4 separate regions of the Homo sapiens genome follow, and regions 2, 3 and 4 are each linked to region 1. The links are contacts of gene promoters, found by promoter capture Hi-C in human tissues and cell types (Jung and others, 2019). All regions are on one chromosome and are shown on one strand. Each heading gives the region's core, a stretch centred on a gene start or on the middle of the fragment in contact. The rest is flanking DNA. Distances are from core to core; before and after follow the strand shown. Region 1 holds the start of ETFA (electron transfer flavoprotein subunit alpha). Region 2 overlaps SCAPER (S-phase cyclin A associated protein in the ER). Region 3 overlaps SCAPER (S-phase cyclin A associated protein in the ER). Region 4 overlaps SCAPER (S-phase cyclin A associated protein in the ER).

Region 1 (2,700 bases), core at 62-2,561:
ATCGCTTGAACCTGGGAGGCGACGGTTGCAGTGAGCCCATATCGTGCCACTGCACTCCACTCCAGCATGGGAAACAGAGCCAGACCTTGTCTCTTAAACAAACAAACAAACAAACAAACAAAAGTCTAATGTCTACAGACATCTAGAAAGAGCTCCAGCTATGCCTCAGAGAGAAAAATCCCAGGAGTGGATGGGAAAATATCCATGCCCAGAAAAAAAAAAAAAAAAAAAAAAAGGAGAAAAGGTACAAACCATCAGGTAAGTTTCTGACCCAAGTTTACCAATCTTGTTTCTCATTTCACCTAAATGTAAACTAGGAAAACTACACAATCCACAATATAAATTATTGTTACTTGACTTGTGACTGGTCAGTCTCCAAATACTCCTTTCCCACAGCATGAGAAGGAAAATATGTTTCCTATCAGTCCTTCTCACAACAGAAGAGAGAAATGTGGTTTGTCACTAATGAAACACTGAAAATGTACCACTGTCACCAGTTAACCTAATCTACAATCTGCTGGTTAAAAGCAGGTCAGCCTGAAGCATATAAAAAGACGTCTGCCTTTCAAAACTGGCTAAAGCTGTCAAATCGGATCGCAGGTTTTACAAATACAATCACCTAAATTCAGCCCTGCTCCATAAACCAGAAAGCAGAACCAGCTTCCATAACTGGCCACGCAGCCTCCCACCCCACCCCACCCCCGCCCTTGACAGTGAGTGGGTCGGAGTAGCCACGATGCGCCCAAAGTGTTTAATTCTTCCAGAAATGCCGGCCTCCGGGAGGAATCTAGGTTTGAAACTTTCCCCAACAGGGCATTCCCCGGTGACATTTTGCTCCCTCGGGTGTGGAGCAAGTGTGGAGGACCTGGCGGCCCGAAAGTGCCCAGAGTGACCGACAAAGGTGGGAAACGGCAGGGCAGAGAGTGGGCCAGAAGAAGGGGCAGCAGACGCGCAAATTCACATCATTCGGGGTCACCCTGACCCCAAACCTCTGACTTCTGCCCCGAACTGGCGTTCCGCAGGGAGTCCAGGGTAGGCCCCAGAACTTTGGACCCAAGTCCCAGGCGGGGACCGGCCTGCGGGCGCGAGGGCTGGTCGAATCTGAGGGGGCCAGTGATCTTTGCAAGACCCCATAGGGACGGCGGGTTGACGGGGGGCCGTCCCTGGGTTCGCCTTCCCAGTCCGGACTCACCGCCCGCCGGAGCTGCCCCGGAGCCGCCGCTCGGAACATGGTCTCCGCTTCCGCCGCAACCTCGGCCTTACAGCAGCCCCGTGCCCGGCCAACTGGCGCCGCCTCAGCCAGTCACCTAATGCTCGCGAGACGCGCGAACGAGATAAGACGCCCTAGGCCGGGAGCACGAGCCCGCGGTTTCCGCCTGCCCATTGGGCGGCTGCGCAGCCAATAGACGGCGGGAAGTTAGGGGCTAGACTGGGAAGTGGGGCAAAGGTGAGGCTATTCCCCGGGGACCTTCGAGTAAGCCCGGGCCGCGGAGCGGCAGAGACAAAGCTGGCCACCCGCTGATGACCGAGCTCAGACTGTACTGTCTCACAGCCCCGCAATGGTCAGCACTGCTAGAGTGAACTTCAAAACTGAGCTGACCTCGGGGTAAGGTACGAGTGGAGCCTTGCCAATTCCAATTAGATACCTTTCCTATATGCCCCTATTTCCCCCTGTATTTCCCCATGGTAGCAATTGTCACATGGGTTGTAATAACCTAAGTACTTGTCTGTGTCACCCATCTGACTGAAGATCTGTAAGGGCAGAAAGTATGCCCTTTTTTTTTTTTTTTTTTTTGAGAGAGAGAGAGTCTCCCTCTGTCACCCTGGCTGGAGTGCAGTGGCGCGAGCTCAGCTCACTGAAAGCTCCGCCTCCCGGGTTCACTCCATTCTTCTGCCTCAGCCTCCCGAGTAGCTGGGACTACAGGCGCCCGCCACCACGCCCAGCTAATTTTTTTGTATTTTTAGTAGAGACGGGGTTTCACAGTGTTAGGCAGGATGGTCTCGATCTCCTGACCTCGTGATCCGCCCGCCTCGGACTCCCAAAGTGCTGGGATTACAGGCGTGAGCCACCGCGCCCGGCCAGTATGCCCTACTTTTAAATTTTGTGTCTACCTGCAACACCTAGCACAATGCCTGGTCCATACTAGGCATTCAATCAGTATGTGTTGAATGAATAAGCAAATGAATAAATGACTGCTAATGAGTCTGGACTTTAACACGAAATTTTTAAGAGGGAAGTGGTATGTTCAGAAATTGTCTCAATTCCCAATTCAGCAACAACCTACCTTTCCAATGTTATCTAGTCTATCAACAAATCCCGTTGACTCTACCTTCAAAAGATAACCAGAATCCAGCAATATCCTCCAACACCCCTTTGCTCCTCTGCTGGTATCACCTTCACTCAGGACCCTGTCCTCTCTCGCCTGGATCATTGCAAAGCCTCCTAACTGGTCTTTCTGTTTCTGCCCATGTTTCCAGAAGCCTCTTCTCCAAACTGATGGACTGATCATGACCTCTGCTCAAAGCCCTATGGTGGCTCCCTCTCCTCCCACTGCCCTCTTCTCTCACTGTTCCCCAGATACATAGGCCTTCTTGAGCACACAAGCCTGCTCCTCTCAGAGTTTTGCACTCTGGCTCTTCCCTCTGCCTGAAATGGCCTTCTCTTGTTACCCGCGTGGCGTACTTCCTCACTTCATTCAG
Region 2 (2,700 bases), core at 11-2,510, 340 kb after region 1:
AAATTGACGCTATGTCAATTCTTGTACCAATGTAAATTTAACACAGACCTGTGTGTTTATCCATATCTAAATTTATATCTAAATATCCACGAAGGATTGGTTCCAGGATCCCCATGGATACCAAAATCTGCAAATGCTCAAGTCCCTTATATAAAAAGACATAGTACAGTTAGCCCTCCATATCTGCAGGCTCCGCACGTGGAACCCACAGATACTAAGGGTTAACTCTGAATGTAGATACACAAACACACACACGCACCCCCCATCCTCTCATTCCTCTCTCTGCCCCATTTCAGAATATGTTCTTGATAGTCAATTATTGTTAAAAATAGGAAGTCTATTAGCCTAGTGATTACCACTGGACACTGAAGCTGATGTCCAAGCTGCTAATACTGCAGACAGAGGTCCAGCTATTATACAGTGAAAAACTATGAATTCCCATGCTGCTCTTTCAGCTCTCTCTCCTCTCCTATTTCTACCTCTACACAAACTGCAGCTCAATGGCAATATATTACACAAATCTAGTTCCTTTATCTTCATCCTTCTGTACAAAAACACAGTCCAATGATTAGAACTTTATTGCCTATCTTGCTTTTCTTAGTCCTCTTTGCCAAACTATGAATTCTTTCAACCTAAATTGCAGCAGCAAAGTTCTGACTCACAGCGACTCCTTTTCCAAATTAAATCTGCCTATCAAAACTTTCAAGCAACCACATGTACTCTCACAGTTCTTCATCACATATAGGTTATATAGGTCCCTACTAATTAATTTTAGAACACATATCCAGTTTAAAATATATGCTAGTTCTGGCTTTGCCTGTAGAACATTTCCCTCATCCCACTGCTTGGAGAAAAATCAAGTATCTTTAGTTTTAATTCATCTTGAGTCAGGTCCTAAAAGCATTATCTTCACTACCTGTATCATGAAACCTGGGGCAGACCATCATGCCTTGAGCCTGAATTCCAATTTATGATAGTAATATGCAATTTGTTTCTCCCTTCTTAAAAGGCCAAAGAAATCTTAGTGATAAGAACCACAAAGCTCACAATCCAATCTCATCTAATTCTTCCACAAATTTTTACTGGACACCTACCATGTGCAGAAAACTAAAAACAAAAATCCTCTTGAAATTTATATCCTAGTAGGAGAAAGCTAATGTGTAAATATATAAACAGTTGAAATACACAGTACTTTAGATGATGGTTAAGTGCATTGGTAAAAAATTAAGTTGGGAAAAGAGACGGTTGAAGTGGAGGTTATTATTTTATTAAGGCCTTGACAATTTTTGCTTCCAGCCATGATTGAGTAACTAGTATCATATTGTCCTTTCTACTACAAGCAACTTAGAAATTCTTAAATATATGATTTTTTTTCATGTATGGACAACTGTCAGCACAGGACTGGAATCCCTCAGAAAAAGAAAGCAAGTGAAATAAGTCCTATGATTGTCTCACCCTTTGTGCCTGAAGGCACTTTCCAGATAGCTACATATCGGGGAAGGGTTAAGTAACCAAAACAGAGCATACATGTAAGTCTGAGCTAAGAAAAAGTTGGAATTTGTGGGGCAGAGTAGCAGAGTGAAAAGATGTATGCAGAGAAGGTCTACAAATCTTCAGAGAGGCCCCACTGAGTCTCTGGCCATGTTAATCTGCTGAATGAGCAGGCAAGAATCTCCAAAACTGGGGAAAAAATAACTATCCAGGAACTGTAAGCTGAACAAGAACAATTACTGGAGCTTTCATAAAGCTGGGAAATGTTTGCATTTCAGCTGTCATATTTGAGGATACTCATTGAACATCCTAGTCATTCTGTAGAGAGTTCACAAAGGACATACCTTAGAAGGAGGAACAATAGAGCCCTAGGATTAAAGGTTACTCTATGTCAAACAAAGTTTAAAACCGTATTTTCAGAGACAAAAGCAAACGTACAAGTTTAAAAAATGCATTACAGAATTAAATTCTACATTCTCTTAAAGAAAACAATAAAACCCAGACATAGAGCAATGTAGCATTTATACTGTCCAATATATGAAAAAAATAAAATACTAATAACAAAATTACTAAGCATAAAAGGCAGAAAATATAAGCCATACTCGGAGAAAAATCAGCGTGAAAAGGAATGACAGATATAATGGACTTCAAGTCAATTCATAAACATATTAAATGAAAACATAAAAAAAAAAACAAGAAATATCGAGAAACTGAAACTATAAAATCAACCAAATGGAACTCCTGGAGATGAAAAATATAACACATGAAATAAAAACGTCACTGGATGATTTTAAAAGCAAATGAGACACAGTAGAAAAAAAAGATCACATAGGACACAGAACTATCTAAACTAGAGAGAAAAAAGACTGACCTATGGGACAATATAAAATGTTCTGTATTAAGTACAACTGGAATCAGAAAATAGAAGAAAAATAGACTGAGGCAGAAAAAACTTTTTCAAGAAACAATGGCTAAAATTTATCCAAATTTGGGGTAAAATATAAACTCACAGATTCAAAAAGCTAAATGAATATCAAACAGAATAAACACAAAGGAAACCATAACAAGAAGTGTTCCCAACCTGCCTGGGCAGCACAGTGATAGAGGAGCTAGAAAGAAATTATTTAGGCAGATAGTAAGAATAAGGAAGTCCTCAGTAACATTTCCTTTTAATAAAAAAGCAGCCCCAAAATCATTTACTTTCTAAGA
Region 3 (2,700 bases), core at 179-2,678, 300 kb after region 1:
AAAATAACTAAGGAGTCTCAATACTTGGGTGATAAAATATTCTGTACAACAAATCCCCATGGCACAAGTTTACTACCTATGTAACAAATCTGCACTTGTAACCCTGAACTTAAAAGTTAAAAAACAAATAACAAAAACAAAAACAAACAAATGAAGACTCAATAGATTCACAAAGATAGATGTCATACAATGTGTATTCTCTGACCACAACAGGATGAAGTTAGAAATTTGTAACAAAAAAACAAACCTGAAAAATTCACAAATTTGTGAAAAATAACGCATTTTTACACAATCAATGAATCACAAAAGTAGTCAAAGAAAAATCAGAAAATACAGACAAATGAAAATGAAAGCACAACATATCAAAATGCATGAGACACAGTGAAAGAAGGGGGACATTTATAAACATTTATATTTAACAAAGTAGAAAAGGAAGAAAAATCTAAACCCAAAGCTTTATTATTTCCTTCAGAAAGAATAATAAAGACTAGTACAGGGATAAATGAAACAGAATTTTTTAAAATAGAGAAAAATCAATGAAACCAACAGCTGGTTCTTCCATAAGACAAACTAAACTGACAAACCTTTAGCTAGATTGACTATGAAAAGATACTAATTGCTAAATTCAGAAATGAAAGTGGGCACATTACTACTGATCTTACTACTTATGAATACATAAGAAGGATTCAAAGAGAGTACTATTAACAACTGTATGGCACTAAATTGGATAACCTACACAAAACAGACCACTTCCTAGAAACCCAAAATATGCCAAAATCTAATGATGAAGAAATAGAAGACCTAAAAGACATACAATTAAGTAGATCAGTAATCAAAATCTCTCGTTGAAGAAAAGCCTTGGACTTGATGGATTCACTGGTGAATTCTACCAAGCATTTAAAGAAGATGTAATAGCACTTTGGGAGGCTGAGGGGGGGCGGATTGCTTGAGCCCAGGAGTTCAAAAGCAGCCTGGGCTACGTGGTAAGACCCCCTCCCTACAAAAAATTACAAAAATTATCCGAGTTGGTGGCACACTCCTGTAGTCCCAAGCTACTTGGGAGGCTGAAGTGGGAGGATCCTTTGAACCCGGGAGGCAGAGATTGCAGTGAGCTGAGATCGCGCCACTGCACTCTAGCTTGGCAACAGAGCAAGAGTCCATCTCAAAAACAAATGTGTCTGTATGTGTATATATACATACACACACACACAGACACACACACACACACACACACACACACACACACACACACAAATGAGGCCAGGCACGGTGGCTCACACCTGTAATCCCAGCACTTTGGGACACCGAGGTAGGCAGATCACGAGGTCAGGAGATTGAGACCATCCTGGCTAACATGGTGAAACCCCATCTCTACTAAAAATACAAAAAACTAGCTGGGCACGGTGGCACACACCTGTAATCCCAGCTACTCGAGAGGCAGAGGCAGGAGAATTACTTGAACCCGGGAGCTGGAGGTTGCAGTGAGGTGAGATCCCACCATTGCACTCCAGCCTGGGTAACAGAGCGAGATTCCATCTCAAAAAAAAAAAAAAAAAGAATATACAAATGTCCAAAAAGCACACGAAAAGATGTCCAACATCACTAATCGTTAGGTAAATGCAATCCGAAACTAAAATGAGATACTATCTCAACTATATGGATGGCTACTATCAAAAAAAGCAGAAAATAACAAGTACTGGTGAGGACATGGAGATATTGTTACTCTTGTGCAGAGCTGGTGAGAATGTAAAAAATGGTATAGCTACTGTGGAAAACAGTGTGCTGGTTCCTCAATATATTAATATTAAAAATAGATTTGCCATATGATCTAGCAATTCTACTTCTGGATATATACAGAAAATAATTAAAAACAGGGACTCAAAGAGATATTTGTATACCCATGTTCACAGCAGCATTATTCATAATTGCTAAACAGTGGAAGCAATCCAAATGTCTAATGACAGATTAATGGATAAGCAACACATATAGTGGAGTATTATTCAGCCCTAAAAAGGATGAATATTCTTATCCTTGGTGCAACATGGATAAATCTTGAGGATATTATGATAAATGAAATAAGCCTATCACAAAAAGACAAATACTGTATATTTACACTTAACATGAGTTACCCAGAGTAGTCAAAATCATAATAATAGAAAGTAGAATGGTGGTTGCCAAGTGCTAGGAACAGGAGGTATGGGAAATTATTGTTTAATGGGTATAGTTATAGTTTTATAAGATGAAAATAGTTCTGGAGATGGATGATGTAATAGCTACACAACAATATGAATGTATTTAATATCATTAAACTGTATTAATAATGAGTAAGATAGTAAATTTTGCTATATGTATTTCATCACCATTTTAAAAAATGAAAAAAAGTACAGTCGTAGCCATCTATGTCTCCTAAATATAGTATAGATATGAAGTACTGATGACTTAATTTGCTTTCCTTGTTGATATATATAGTTTTTAGGAAGATGTATATGGAAATTTGAATTTAAGTAGCATTACTACCTTTTTGGGCCTCTATCATTTTAATGTAAAAAGCTCATACTGTATCAAAATTACAAGTTTTCAATCATCATAAGCATTTCCTCACAGCATTAAAATGTCTATAAACATAATTTTTAAAAATCCAATTAAGTAGTTTGGAATTTCAAAAGTAAAACAAATTGGGCACTTTTAACTTCCTTTTCC
Region 4 (2,811 bases), core at 9-2,508, 350 kb after region 1:
ATCCTTGAGGTTTTGACAAGAGCAGCGACAGGCTGTGACTTACATTTTAGCAGGTCTGTTGTGGCTGCAGTGTTTAGAATATACAAGGGCAGAAACAAGACTAGTCAGAAGGCTACTATAACAATCCAGGTAAGAGCTGACTGAAGCTTTGGATCAGGGGAAAGCAGTGAAGTTAGAGAGACGTTGTCAAATTCTGAATATATTTTTAAAGCAAAGCTAACATTTGCAGTTAGATTGGATGTGAGGTGTAGGAGAAAGACAGATCAAGGATGACTTTAATGGTTTTGGCCTAAGCAACTAGAATAAAGTATTCATTTGCTGATATAGAGAAGACTATGAAATGAGGTAGGTTTTTGTGGCAAGAAGAAAGAGCAGGTTTGTTTTGGACATACTAAGTTTGAGTAAAGCTGAAGATATAAAATTGGTAGTCATTGGCAAGTAGAGGTATTTATAGCCGCAGAACCAGGGAGCTCACCAAGAGAATGTGAACATTAAAAATAGACAGGTTCAAAAAACAGGCCCTTAAAACATTCAAAAGTATCAAGAGGTCTGCAAGTTCTCAGGATAAACTAGAAATGAAGGTCAGTAATGCTCTAAAATACACCGTAAAACTATTCTGAGAAATCTGGACTAACTTCAAAAACTAAAATCAAAAAAGCCTTTTCTATTCTTTGATTAAATGAGCACTCTGAAGTTATCATTGATTATGTAAATTGAAATAGACACCTAGATTGATCATTATCTAAACACTGAAACTACAGAGAGATAACTGCACTGTTCACTATTATTGTACGTTCTATATTCCTATAATCCCATGGGTCAAGCTTCTCCATCTTTGAGACACTTAGTAGTAAAAGTATACGGACATATTCAGAATAGTTGCCCTTGAATAGCAAAGGATTATCTGCTAAAGCAGAGCTATCTCTGTGTCCTCGAACCGGACTCATCCGTCATCAGATGACACTCAAAGCTTGTGAGGTAATGATGTACTACACAGCTGTCTGATCTTCAGATGACACTTTGGAGGCTGATGATAAACTACAGGTCTGACAACTCACTTTCCATTTTAAGATATTTCTTGAACTTTTTCTTGTTGTGACAGGCAACCAAATTGATTAAGCCTAGTCATGGGATTTGACACTACAGCCAGTAGACTTCTATTTGTTGATTGCTATTGATTTTCTTTGATACTTCATTTAAAAATCAATAGTTGGAAAGAAAAATAGGCTTGGTTTACACATACTTAAACATACTATTGTATGCTGGAGGAGGCACAAGTTTGGCAGAGCTTTGGCATCCAATTATAAGAAGAGCTCTTAACAGGTGAAAGCAAGGGCTTTAGATCGATATGCAGTTTTCTTTCTCAATCAAGGAAAGTGGCTATAAATTAGGCTCATCAGTGTTATTTCCAAGGCTTTCATGAAGCAAACAACTTTAAACTTTTTTTGTCTTCCTTGGATTTACATTAAAAGATACATCACTAAAAGTTTTTCTTTTGCTTTTAAGGGTATTTAAGGTACCTGAAGTTCATCCGGGCTTTTATCTTTTTGGCTTTTTTTTTATTTTTTTGCCGCTCTTCTCCATCTTTCAAAGCTTCTGCTGGAGCTGTACTTTCAACCACAATGTCAATAATGTACTTCTTCAAGGAAAGATGCTCCTGCAAGATAAATAAATAAAATAATAATAATGAGGATGATCATTTAAATATAATATAGGATTGCTATAGACTACAGTGAGTTTAAGACATTTGATGAAACTAAAAGTAATCTCCGTAATACACTGGTTTCTACAATTGTTATGGAAAACGTTGAAGAAACTGTTTTACTTAAGGATTTTACATCACTGACTTCACTTCATTGCATATCAATTGTGCCAATGCTAAGGCTACATGGACATAAACCCTACCAAGATATCACACAAGTAGAGTAGGAAAGGTAAAATATATTCACAAAACTATAATATCATCTATAATACCAAGCCAATCAGAGATTTAGAGTGCCGTTAAGAACCCGAAGAGGGAAACAAGATCACTGTTCACTAGGCGGAAGAGGGGGAAACTTCAGCAAGGAAGCACCATATCTGCTATCCCTTGAAGAAAGGATAAAATGTGAACATACGGATATTAGGTAAGTATATTTGGCCTGTGAGTAGGGTGAGGCTGCAGGAAGGAAAAAGAAGGTCATCTCAGAAAACACATCCTAGAGATGAGAAAGTGGAATGTGGGTATCCACAGCAAAACTTTGGTTCAGCAAGAGCACATAGTGTTTGGTCAAGTTCCCCTCCTTATCCATCTTAGATTTTATGGCCTATCACTATAATCATTCTGTTGCCTGTGCTCAACTCTTTTCCCCCTTTCTTCTTTCATACATGCATGGCAAAATCCCAATCCTAAATCCAACTCTCTCCCTATTCTGAGCCTATGTCTGAAGCAGATTAATGTGGCTATAATTACAAACTTTAAATTTATGAAATTACACCTCAAGTGGCCTCTAGTATTCCCAGGCAGTCAAGCAACTTTACATTAGTTAATCTACACACTTGCCTTGCTAAAAATTATTTTAGACTCTCTCCTTAAATCTCCAATATCCGTCATCTCCTAACCCCATCTCTCAGTTCATGACTATGTTTATTTGATTAAGGAAAACAGCATTATTCAGACGAGAGCTTCCACACACTCCCACAGCTAAATGTATCAAACAATGTGCATATGTGCCCGTACACTCTCTTCCCTCCTGTTATAATATATGAACACCTGTTCCTATCTAAGAGCAAGTCCTCCAAATATAAACTGGATCCCATTCCTTGTCTCGC

The links. Contacts are between HindIII fragments. The study calls those that stand out against the background at their distance.
Region 2: a contact is called between a fragment that was not itself captured here and the fragment with the promoter of ETFA in region 1, in 1 of the 25 tissues and cell types used here (dorsolateral prefrontal cortex).
Region 3: a fragment that was not itself captured here is called in contact with the fragment with the promoter of ETFA in region 1 in 3 of the 25 tissues and cell types used here (mesenchymal stem cells, mesendoderm cells and thymus).
Region 4: a fragment that was not itself captured here is called in contact with the fragment with the promoter of ETFA in region 1 in 1 of the 25 tissues and cell types used here (mesenchymal stem cells).

The regions. Positions count from the first base shown.
Region 1 is chr15:76,310,158-76,312,857 of GRCh38, forward strand. It overlaps ETFA (electron transfer flavoprotein subunit alpha), which reads right to left and starts at 1,312. Exons shown (of 12, transcript NM_000126.4): 1 at 1,193-1,312. The coding sequence starts at 1,231. RefSeq lists enhancers at 564-1,064, 1,065-1,565, 1,775-1,824, 1,885-1,934. The HindIII fragment of the contact is 24,969 bases long and covers 1-2,700 here.
Region 2 is chr15:76,646,017-76,648,716 of GRCh38, forward strand. The region is part of intron 21 of SCAPER (S-phase cyclin A associated protein in the ER); the gene reads right to left. Among named protein-coding and RNA genes, the nearest start is that of MIR3713, 61 kb to the left of the region's middle. The HindIII fragment of the contact is 3,243 bases long and covers 1-2,700 here.
Region 3 is chr15:76,614,281-76,616,980 of GRCh38, forward strand. The region is part of intron 22 of SCAPER (S-phase cyclin A associated protein in the ER); the gene reads right to left. Among named protein-coding and RNA genes, the nearest start is that of MIR3713, 29 kb to the left of the region's middle. The HindIII fragment of the contact is 9,427 bases long and covers 1-2,700 here.
Region 4 is chr15:76,664,133-76,666,943 of GRCh38, forward strand. It overlaps SCAPER (S-phase cyclin A associated protein in the ER), which reads right to left. Exons shown (of 32, transcript NM_020843.4): 21 at 1,521-1,657. Among named protein-coding and RNA genes, the nearest start is that of MIR3713, 79 kb to the left of the region's middle. The HindIII fragment of the contact is 5,919 bases long and covers 1-2,811 here.